3 separate regions of the Homo sapiens genome follow, and regions 1 and 3 are each linked to region 2. Evidence: promoter capture Hi-C in 16 types of primary human blood cells and fetal thymus (Javierre and others, 2016). All regions are on one chromosome and are shown on one strand. Each heading gives the region's core, a stretch centred on a gene start or on the middle of the fragment in contact. The rest is flanking DNA. Distances are from core to core; before and after follow the strand shown. Region 1 overlaps POU2F2 (POU class 2 homeobox 2). Region 2 holds the start of CD79A (CD79a molecule). Region 3 overlaps GRIK5 (glutamate ionotropic receptor kainate type subunit 5).

The links. The method cuts DNA at HindIII sites, captures the fragments that hold promoters and counts their contacts. A CHiCAGO score of 5 or more calls a contact.
Region 1: a fragment that was not itself captured here is called in contact with the fragment with the promoter of CD79A in region 2 in 1 of 17 cell types (non-activated CD4 T cells); the score reaches 5.5 in non-activated CD4 T cells.
Region 3: a contact is called between a fragment that was not itself captured here and the fragment with the promoter of CD79A in region 2, in 8 of 17 cell types (fetal thymus, total B cells, naive CD4 T cells and 5 more). The highest score is 8.1, in fetal thymus.

What each region holds. Positions count from the first base shown.
Region 1 is chr19:42,118,988-42,122,663 of GRCh38, reverse strand. POU2F2 (POU class 2 homeobox 2) reads left to right here. Exons shown (of 15, transcript NM_001394376.1): 2 at 88-153; 3 at 286-320; 4 at 482-538. Among named protein-coding and RNA genes, the nearest start is that of POU2F2, 12 kb to the left of the region's middle. RefSeq lists a silencer at 585-664. The HindIII fragment of the contact is 8,206 bases long and covers 1-3,676 here.
Region 2 is chr19:41,875,685-41,879,214 of GRCh38, reverse strand. CD79A (CD79a molecule) reads right to left here and starts at 1,936. Exons shown (of 5, transcript NM_001783.4): 1 at 1,832-1,936; 2 at 1-225. The coding sequence starts at 1,910. RefSeq lists a silencer at 1,735-1,794 and an enhancer at 3,202-3,271. The HindIII fragment of the contact is 1,040 bases long and covers 1,461-2,500 here.
Region 3 is chr19:42,037,231-42,041,261 of GRCh38, reverse strand. All of the region lies in intron 12 of GRIK5 (glutamate ionotropic receptor kainate type subunit 5), which reads left to right. Among named protein-coding and RNA genes, the nearest start is that of GRIK5, 31 kb to the left of the region's middle. The HindIII fragment of the contact is 2,122 bases long and covers 1,079-3,200 here.

The DNA of each region.
Region 1 (3,676 bases), core at 747-3,246, 240 kb before region 2:
GGCTTGGGGAGTGTGGTGGAATGGGGGCCCGAGAGCCCTCCTGGATTCCCCTCCTTCACCCCACTTCCATTCCTCCTCTGTCCCCAGAAATAAGAATGTCTAAGCCCCTGGAGGCCGAGAAGCAAGGTCTGGACTCCCCATCAGAGCACACAGGTGGGTGGGCAGGGAGCAGGGGGGCAGGGGTCACCGTGGGCAGGGGAAGTGGGACAGATGGGAAGAGAGCTGGGAGGGGACAGGTGTGGTGGGGGTGGCTGATGACAACACATCCTTTCCCTCTCTTTGCAGACACCGAAAGAAATGGACCAGACACTAATCATCAGGTTAGGAGGGAGTGGATAAGCGGGAGGGGGTGGGAAGGAATGGGGAGAGGGGTTCAGAGGGGGCTCTGTGCCGCCTATGGTAGGAGGGCAGGGAGCGGGGGTGGTCAGAAGCTGCTTCACTGCACTATTCCCATCCCCTTGCTCCTACTTTCTCTTTGCAGAACCCCCAAAATAAGACCTCCCCATTCTCCGTGTCCCCAACTGGCCCCAGTACAAAGGTAAGCACCTGTCAGAACAGCCAGGGAAGTGGGCAGCGCTTGGAAGAGGGTCCTCAGGAGGCCTGCCTCAGTCCAAGGGCTGAGAGAGCACTGAGCCTTGGTACCTTGGTAACGAGGTTCCTCCCGCCCCTTCTCACTCTTGGGCTCCCACCCCAGGCCTGTGACTCACGCAGGCTCCTTCCCCTTCCCTAGGGGGTGGGGGTGGCTAGGGAAATCCCCCCCAGAGCCCCAGGGCGATGAACAACAGGAAGCCAAAGGCCCGCCCCCATCCCAACTTCCCTGACCCAACAGAGGCCTGCACCACCGCCTGTCCCCCAATATACACATTTAGCGGCCAGCTGAGGTGGGGGTGGGGGGGCTGGTACCAGTTGAGGATAGCTGTAGGAATGCAGGAGAGAATGACAGGGAGGCCGGAAGCAGCCAGGCAGTGCAAATTCCACATCCAGATGGGGCCCTGTGCCTGGCATTCTGGGCTTCTTGGGGTTGCCTGGGCTCCAGTCTCCACCCTCCAGCCTGGTCCAGGGGTAGCAGGCAGGTCCAGAGGCTTGAAGGTAGCACTGGAGGTGGGGGCAGAGAAGGTGTGAGCAGGACTCCAGACCCTGACCAGTGGTGGCTGAGGGATGGGGTGGGAGGCTGGGAACTGCTCCCCACCCTGCTACAGCTTTGCTCTGTGACCATGGGAAAGTCACTTCCCCTCTCTGGGCCTCTCAGTTTCCTCTTCAGTATCATTGGTCAGGGGGGAGGGGGCAGTCGGATGGGATGGCCTCTGTGGTTGCCTCCATGTCTGGTGTACCCCCATGCTACCATGAGAGGAGAGGATAAAAGTGCTTTGTGAGCAGATGTCCTGCTTCTGTGCTGAGCGCTTTGAACGGGGTCTAGGGGAGACAGGCTCTCGATCTTGACCTCCTTGACCCTCTGATGGCAGGTTTGGCTATTGCCTTAGCCCTCAGAGCACAGCGTGTATCCATTGCCCCCACCCTGTCCTCAGTTGAATCAGATCTTTGCAGTCTGTTCTCAAACTGGCAGCAGGCTTCCTTCTTTTGGGGATGCCAGTGGGACCAAGGGAATGAAGGTTTCTCCCTCCCCTTCCTGGCCTCGGGCTCTGTCCACAACTCGCCCTGTACGCCCTGTTTCTCTGGGCTTTGCCTCTCAACTTCTCTCCATCTCTTCTGTGTCAGTCTTTCCCTAACTGAAGTGATTCATGTGCTTCTGTCACAGTCTCAGGCATAAGACCACTGTGCGCAACTATTTACATAATAATTTTGTTAATTGGCTCAATTTTTTAAAAAAGCACCTTATTATGGAAAATGTGAAGTGGATACAGAAATAGAGAGAAGGTTATAATGAAAATAAAGCCCCTAGATACCCATCAATCAGCTTCAACAATTACCAACTCATGAACTGGCTTGCTTTTCGACAGCTTTTTAAATAAATGTTTTTTAAATGGAAATTTCACAAATGGAAAACCAGAATCACTTGCCATGGAAATAAATATGATGATTATTAAAATTTACCCAGAGTCTCTTGTGTGCCGAAGGGTCTAAACCTCAGAGGCCTGTTAAAAAAGAGGCTTATTAAAAAGAGGCTTATTAAAAAAGGAGATTAGGGCTGGGCGCGGTGGCTCATGCCTGTATTCCCAACAGTTTGGGAGACAAAGCGGGCAGATCACCTGAGGTCAGGAGCTTGAGACCAGCCTGGCCAACACGGTGAAACTTCGACTCTACTAAAAATACAAAAATTAGCCGGGCATGGTGGTGAGTGCCTGTAATCCCAGCTACTTGGGAGGCTGAGGCATTGTGGAGAATTGCTTGTGCCCAGGAGGTAGAGGTTGCAGTGAGCCGAGATTGCACCACTGCACTCCAGCCTGGGCAACAGAGAAAGACTCCAGCTCAAAAAAAAAAAAAAAAGGAGATTAGGCCAGATGCAGTGGCTCAAGCCTGTAGTTCTAACACTTTGGGAGGCCAAGGTGGGTAGATCGCTTGAGCCCGGGAGTTCAAGACCAGCCTGGGCAACATAGTGAGACCCTGTCTCTACAGAAAATACAAAAATTAGCTGGGTGTGCATGCCTGTAGTCTCAGCTACTTGAGACAGAGGCAGGAGGATCGCTTGAGTCTGGGAAGTTGAGGCTGCAGTGAGTCCTGATGGTGCCACTGCACTCCAGCTTGGGTGACAGAGCAAGACCCTGTCTCAAAAAAAAAATTAAAATAAAAGTGGAGATTAGCTAGTATTGGAGAGATGGTAAAGACATTCAAGCACCAATCAGAGACTTTAAGATAACCAGAAACAATGAAAAAAGCACTGAAAAGGGAATAGTGTGCTCACCATGGCATTCAACATTATTTTTTTAAAACTTTTTTTTTTTGAGACGGAGTCTCGCACTGTCACCCGGGCTGGAGTGCAATGGCATGATCTCGGCTCATTGCAACCTCCACCTCCTGGGTTCAAGCGATTTTTGAGGCGGAGTCTCGCTCTGTCGCCCAGGCTGGAGTGCGATGGCACCATCTTGGCTCACTGCACCTCCACCTCCCGGCTTCAGGTGATTCTCTTGCCTTAGCCTCCCAATTAGCTGGGATTACAGGTGTGTGCCACCATGCCTGGCTAATTTTTGTATTTTTAGTAGAGATGGGGTTTCACCATGTTGGCCAGGCTGGTCTCGAACTCCAGACCTCAAGTGATCCTCCCACCTTGGCTCCCAAAGTGCTGGGATTAAGGGGCGAGCCACCGCGCTCAGCCTATTTTTAAAAAAACTTTGTATTAAAATATGATACACATTAAAAACACACATAGATCTTCAATGTATGACTCTGTGAACTTTCAGAAACTTAGCACACCCATGTCACTAGCACCAGATCAAGAAGCAGAGCACGACCAGCCTTCCAGAGGCCCTTAATGCCCCTGCCAGGGATAGCTGCTACCCTGACTTCTCATACTCAGTGTCATTTCATGCTGCATCTCTGCAGCACTTTTTTTTTTTTAACCTCTCTCTCTCTCTTTTTTTTTTAAGAGACGGTGTCTTGCTCTGTTGCCCAGGCTAGTCTCAAACTCCTGGCCTCAAGCAATCCTCCTGCCTCAGCCTCCCAAAATGCTGCGATTACAGGCATGAACCACCACACTTGGCCTCTGTAGCTCTTAAACTTT
Region 2 (3,530 bases), core at 687-3,186:
CCCCATGGCTCTTGTTCACATTCTGGATGATCAGCGTACCATTGGGGTCCTCGCCCGGGCCCAAGAACTCAGGGGGCCACGTGTAGTTGCCATGGAGGACGCGCCACCAGGTGACGTTGGCGTTGTTGCTGCTATTGTGCGGGCATTGGAAGTGGGCGTCTTCCCCCAGGCTCACCATCAATGATGCTGGGACCTTGTGCATCCACAGGGCCTGGCACCCAGGGCCTGTGGAGAGACAGGGTGGGTGGGTCAGGGACTGGGGATGGTGACACATTTCCCCAGCCCTGGCCCCTGCAGTTCCAGCACTCCTGGGAAGAGGGTGAGGACTCTCCTGGGTGGGGAGGGAGAGAGAGAGCCCCTGACAGGGGCTGATACATCCTGGGGAGAGGGGGGATGCGGGAAAGTGAAGAAGCCCCTGGGAAGGAGAGAGGACATACCTGGTTGGGGTGGGTGAGGATATCCTGGGAGAGGAGAATGAGACTCCCTGGGATGGTAAGACCCCTGGGAGGCCCTTCTCACCTCTGCAGCGCCATCTCTTGCCCCCCTCCCGCATACCCACTTTGTACTCTGGCCCTGTGAACTCTCTGGATTTTGGATGTTTGTTCCAGGCACTGGAGGACCGCTGTCCAGACAGCTCCTTCCAGAAGCAGTGCAGGCGTCCCCTCCTCCCGCAGCCTTCCCGGTCCATTTTTGCACCCCAGCCTCAGCCAGGCCCAGCACCTGGCGCTTTTTCTTGTGTAATCATTCACAGAACCCTAGAAGTAGGTTCTCTCCTTAGCCCCATTTTACAGGAGGGATGGCTGAGGCTCTGGGAGGGCAGGCGGGTTGCCAGCATCACCAGGCAGTCAGGAGTGGCACTGGGTTCAAACTCTTGGCTCCCTGGCCTCTCCCTGCCTGGGCTGAGGAGCCAGTCTGTGGCCTGCCCTGGCCTGTGACCCTGTGCCTGGCCCTCATTCTCTGTAAGTTGTATGTGTCAACCTAGGGGTCAGGGGTGAGTTCAGTCCTTGGGCTGGGCTGCTGGTGATTGAAGGGGCTCAGAGCGGGGTGGAGACTGGGGGTGTCTCTGAGTGAGACGAGGCGGCTCAGGCTGGCTGCAGTGTCCAATCCGGGCTCCTCTGGGAAGCCCCAGCTCTCAGCCAGGCCTCCCACATGGCCAGTCCCCTCTTCTGGAGGTAGGTGGAGGAGGGAGGTGAGGAAGAGAGAAGGAGGAAGAGATGGGGAGAGGGGCCGAGCACCCTCATCGTCACGGGCTTAAGACTCAGACGTGAACTCCAATCCTTGCTCCCAGTGTCCCCTTGGGTGGGGAACCTTTTTCTCTGAACTCCTGGGTTAGCGTGGCCACAGCCCCTGCCAGCTGTCCTTGAGCAGGTGAGGGGGAGTCCATGAGACACCCATTCCCCCAGTGCTGAGAAGGGACTCCCAACAGAGAGAGGCACCTGAGGTTTAAGGCAGAGAAAGCTTTTTCTCCCCTTGACAGACGCTGAATGCTGCTACCCCTAAGTCCCCTTCCTGCCCCCAGCCCTGGTGCTCAGTCAAGAGCAACTTTAGTTCCTTATTTTGGCCTGTGGGGAACAGGAGGTGGGGGAGGTGACTCTTGCTCCTGCCTCCCTGTGTGAGACTGTGGACGCCCCTTCTCCTTCGCTGGGCTCCCTCCAGCCCCACCTTGGCCCATCTTGGCACAGATACGATTTCTATAGGCATCTTCCCTGGGTCCCCTATCCTCTGCCTCCTCTTCCCCTTTCCCTGAGCCCCCTTCCCTCTGCCTGTGCCCTCTCTGCAGCCTCCACAGCTTCCCCCACCTCCCGCCAGTTCCTGCCCTTTGGCCACATACCCAGGTAGACAGCAGACAGCAGGAAGAGGAGGAAGATGGTGGCAGGCAGAGCTTGGAGGACTCCTGGACCCCCAGGCATCTTCTCCCAGTGGGTTGGTTAGTTTGAGTTGCAGCAGTCCCAGGGTACCAGATCCCTACCCCAAACCCCACCCTACTTCCTGCCCAGCCCCCCGGAGATGGGCTCCAGTGGCCCTCGCTACTGGGCCCTTTGCTTGTTGGGCCTGGGGACAGCCCCTGCCGGGTATGCTTCAGGCTGTGAGTGGAGAGAAACTGCTCCCTGCACCTGTGGTGGCCACAATTCCCCTGAGAGGTGGCTGCTTGGGTGGGGGAAGAGGCTGGTTCAAGGGCTGGCTCGTCACTGCTGAGCCTTTGGAAGGAAGCCTAGGGAACCTGAGTCCTGGGCATGTGTCATGGGCAGGTGATGGTTCTGAGCTTGACCTCTCCCCCTGCCTGGACTTGGGCAAACCTTGTCCCTTCCCTGACCCCATTTCCTTGCTTCTTGGGATTAGAAACAAGGACTTAAAGGGGTTGTCACATGCACAGAAATGGCCCACAGTAGGCGCCCAGTAAATGTTAGTCACTATAAATACTCATGAAGAATAAATAAGGCAGGCTGACCTGTGGCTGACTACCCGTGTGACTAGGTGGGCACTTTGATCCTTCGAAGCTTGACATTTTTCATCTGTGAGATGAGGACCAGAATGTCTCCCTGTCTCATTATGTGATACGAGATGGTGTTCCTGGTATTCAAGGAGTGAGAACCATGATCAGCTCTTTACTGGAATTCTTTTTTTAAAAAAACAGGCCAGCTATGGTGGCTTATGCCTGTAATCCCAGCCCTTTGGGAGGCTGAGACAGGAGAATCACCTGAGGTCGAGTTTGAGACCAGCCTGGCCAACATGGCGAAACCCCATCTCTACTAAAAATACAAAATTAGCCAGATGTTGTGGCACATGCCTATTATTCCAGCTACTCAGGAGGCTGAGGCAGGAGAATCAGTTGAACCCAGGAGGTGGAGGTTGCAGTGAGCTGAGATCACACCATTGCACTCCAGCCTGGGTGACAAAAGCGAAACTCTGTCTCTAATAATAACAATAATAACAACAACAACATATATTTTTCTTCTTTTTTTTTTTTAAGAGGGATGGGATCTTGCTATATTGCCCAGGCTGGTCTTGAACTCCTGGCCTCAAGCAATCCTCCTGCCTCAGCTTCCCAAAGTGCTGGGATTACAGGCATGTGCCACTGTGCACAGCCAGAAGTTGTTTTATATTGACCTGCCATGACTGGCAAGGTAGGCCATCCCCCATTTTACAGAGGGGGAAACCGAGGCCAGAGAGGGGAGGTTGTCACTTGCGGGTGTCATACAGTCTAGGGGTGGTGGACAGAGATTCAAAGTCATCTTTGTGTTGCTCCCAGTTTCCTTTGAGCATGTCTGGTAGGAGGGAAATGAGGTCTGAGTGGGGAGGGCGGAGTTGCTGAGATATTTGTGAGCAGTTAGGGGACCCTCACACACATACAAGGGGATATATAAAATAAATTTATTGCAGGGAGATTTTTGGTAGCAAACATTGAGAAGCAAATGAAAAGTCCATTTGTGGGAGAATGGGTGCATACACTGTGGCAAAGTGAGCCAACAGAATGCTACAGAATAGGGGAAGGTGTCATAAGGCTGTCTCAGAAACAGCACAAACATCAG
Region 3 (4,031 bases), core at 890-3,389, 160 kb before region 2:
GTTAGACTTGACAGAGCTCATCAGAGATTCTCACCCTCCTCTCTCTCATGCCAGAATTTACAGCATCCAACCCCCTGAACATCACGAGGGAAGACATGAGAGGGCCACTTTGCTTGACAAGGACGTTTATCCCTTAGGGCACTGACTTTCAAAAGTTATTTTGACAGAACTTTTTTTCCAATTGCAAACTCCCTCAGAACCCTGGGCAAGAGCAGAGCTGCTCTGGTGAAGGCAGAGATGGGGGTGCCTCCCACCCCACCCCACAGGCAGGTCCCAAGGCGCTGCCCCATAAAGCTGCCAGCTGGTTTGAAAACTTCTGCCCCAGGGTGAGTTTTAAGGTCAGGGTGAATTTTATTATTATTATTATTTTATTTATTTATTTATTTATTTTGGAGACAGAGTCTCCTCTGTTGCCCAGGCTGGAGTGCAATGGCACGATCTCTGCTCACAGCAACCTCTGCCTCCCTGCAACCTCCACCTCCCGGGTTCAAGCGATTCTCCTGCCTCGGCCTTCCGAGTAGCTGGGATTACAGGTGCGCCACCGTGCCTGGCTGATTTTTGTATTTTTTGGAGCAACAGGTTTCATCATGTTGGCCAGGCTGGTCTTGAACTCCTGGCCTCAAGTGATCCGCCCACCTCACCTCCCAAAGTGCTAGGATTACAAGTATGAGACACCACACCCAGCCCAGGGTGAATTTTAAAGCCTGAAGCCCAAAGAGGCCCCGGGTGAGACAGGAGATGAGAAGCCCCAGAGCTGACAGCTCTATGCCCACCTGAGGGCACAGGCTTCCTCGTGACCTGTTTCCACAGCCTGGTCTTTAGTCACGTAGGCTCAGAAATATTCTTTCATCTGGTATCCCAGAAATAAGCAGGCTCCAAGGGAGTAGCCCTGCACCTGAAGTCACTCTAAACTGGATGCCCTTTTTTCACCAACAGAGAAGTCTGGAACAGTTCTTATTTACAGCTGTCTGACCTTTGTGTCTCAGGGCCTACTCAGTAGGGTAGGGTGAGAGGATTTGGGGCCTGGGGCCAGCAAAGTGTGGCAGCTGAGAGTGTCTGTGGTTGGCTGTTTAAAGCTTAGCTCTGCTGTGCACTGGTTGTGTGGCTTTGGGCAAGTGCTTAACATTTCTTTAGGTTGTAGTTTGTTCAACTGTAAAATTGGGGAATAACAGCCCTTTAGCACATAGGGTTGTTTTGAAGAACAACATGCAGTGAAGAACTTAGAACAGGGCCTGGTGCATAGTGGGTGCTGTATGCGTGTGTCCTTTTTTTTTTTTCCTTTGAGACTGGGTCTCTCTCTGTTGCCCAGGCTGGAGCGCAGTAGTGCAATCACAGCTCACTGCAGCCTCCACCTCCTGGGCTCAAGCGATCCTCCCACCTCAGCCTCCCGAGTTGCTGGGACTATAGGCATATGCCATAATGCCTAGGTAATTTTTGTGTTTTTTGTAGAGATGGGGTCTGGCCCTGTTGCCTAGGCTGGTCTTGAACTCCTGGGCTTAAGCAATCCTCCCACCTCAGCCTTCCAAAGTGCTGGGATTATACTATTTTTATTATTGTTATTATTCATACCAGCATGGCCAGCACATACATAGATTTGTGTGTTCATCCATTTTCCATTCAGCCAATGTTTGTTGAGTGCCTACTGTATACCAAGCCCTGTGCTATACCCTGGGGATACCATGGTGAACAAGCCCGATGTGCTCTTACTGAGTGGGCTAAAGGGTTTGGGCCTCAGCAGAAAGCCCATGGGATGCCCTTGAAGAGTTTTGTTTTTGTTTTTGTTTTGAGACGGACTCTGGCTCTGCTGCCCAGGCAGGCTGGAGTGCCATGGGGTGATCTTGGCTCACTGCAACCTCTGCCTCGTGGGTTCAAATGATTCTCCTGCCTCAGCCTCCTGAGTAGCTGGGACTACAGGCGCATGCCACCACACCTGGCTAATTTTTGTATTTTTAGTAGAGATGGGTTTCGCCATGTTGGCCAGGCTGGTCTCAAACTCCTGAACTCAGGTGATCCACCTGCCTCAGCCTCCCAGAGTGCTGGGATTACAGGCATGAGCCACCATGCCCGGCCACCCTTGAAGGGTTTTGATCTGGCTCAAGTGAATTGGCCCTGGGGTTGGGGGAAGCAGTGGTAACAGGAAGACCAGTGAGGAGATAAGGAATGAGCTGGTGGGCCTCAGGCGGGAGAACGTCAGAGCTAGAGACTAGGGGAAGGGCTAAAGAGCACCAGGGCTTGGTGACTGCCTAGGGTGGGGGATGCAGGAGAGGACAGGAGGGAGAGCATTCCTCCTGTGTCTGGCTTGGGCATCTGGGTGATGGCAATGACATTTACAGGGAGAACACTGGAGGAGGAGCTGGAGCGTGAAGGATAGGCGGAGTTTGGCCTTGCCCTGCTGTGGGATAGCCGAGTGTGCCGAGCTGCACAGGAATAGTCACCACCGTCATCACAACAGCAGCAGCTGTCATTTGTTGATTTCACACCATGTGCGAGGAACTTTTCAAGTGTTACTTAACATAATTTTCATAGCAGTCCTTCATGGCCTGAGGATCACTGCCCAGTGTGAGATCTGGAGTCCCCAGTGCACAGGGCTGCAGCCAGGTGTGTCTGACTTAAGGCCCGTGCCCTTTCCAGCCCTCCAGCTGGGAACTTGGGAAGCTCGGAGTACACTGATGGAGTGGCACGCTGTGCCAGGCCCTTGTCTGAGCTTTCTGACTTGTCTCCATCCTTGACTCCTCATGGCCACCCAGTGAGAGAGGGACTGGTATTAGCCCCGTTTTCTCAAATGTACAGTGAGGCATCAAGGTTTCATGTCCAGGCCCATGGCTAGTGACCAGGAGAGCCAAGGTGGGCACCCCATCAGGGTGGCCCAGAGCTGGTGAGTGACTTCCAGATGGAAGACAGCCTGGGGCACCACCATCCTGCCAGTCACCCCTGGGCCAGGCACAGGTCTCCTTGGCCTGTCTTGAATTATGACCCATTTTTTCCACCCAGTGGCCATGGCTGACATTGGCCTTCTCCCTGCCATCACTGCCATGGTGTGAATTCAGGTCCCACCCCTCTCATCAGCCTCCTTACTGGCCTCCTGGCTTCTAGTCTCTCCACTCCCCAGCTTGTCCTCCAATAGAACCTTTCTACAGTGTGAGTCTGATCTGTCACTTGTATGCTTTAACTGAAGCCCCTGAGGCCCTCAGGATAAAGCTTAGCCTTCAAGGGCAAAGAAGATCTTAGGTCAGGGTCCCAGGAAGCTGACTCTGAGATGGAGATGTAGAGGCAGGAGGTGTGATGGCGTGCCCCTGGAAACCTGCCCTGTGCAGGAGGGAAGGAAGCAGGCTTGGGCAGAGGAGTTGAGCTGCGCTGCAGTCACAACTGGGCCTTAGCTGTCCCACAGGCAGCTCTGGAGCTGAGCTGGCCGTCAAGGACCTCCCCCTGTGGTAAGGGTGCCAGGCCTTTAAGCACCCACTGATATGTCACTGGACGTGGGCTGCTCTTGGGGAGAGTCAGGACTTTGGGTGAGGGGACGCTCTTCTACTGACAGAGCTGAGAGCCATCAGCCACCTACACCCTGGGCAGCTGAGGCAATGAGTGCCCCACTCCTGAAACAGAGTCTGGGTAGCCACCATGGAGTCCACTATAGCAGTGCACTGGTTAGGAGCCAGAAGGAGCCAGCTTCAGGTCCCCAGTGCTCCCACATGATCCCTGCAAAGCCACTTATCTCTGAAGGTCAGTCACTCCTCTTGAAAAGGGGCTAATGTTACCTCCCTCACAGAGGGTTTTTTTGTTTGTTTGTTTTTGTTTTTCTTTTTGAGGCAGAGTCTCACTCTGTCGCCCAGGCTGGAGTGCAGTGGCGTGATCTCGGCTCACTGCAACCTCTGCCTCCAGGGTTCAAGCGATTTTCCTGCCTCAGCCTCCTAAGTAGCTGGGATTATAGGAATGCACCACAATGCCCGGCTATTTTTGTATTTTTAGTGGAGACGGGGTTTCGCCATGTTGGCCAGGCTGGTCTCGAACTCCTGACCTCAAGTGAGCTGTCC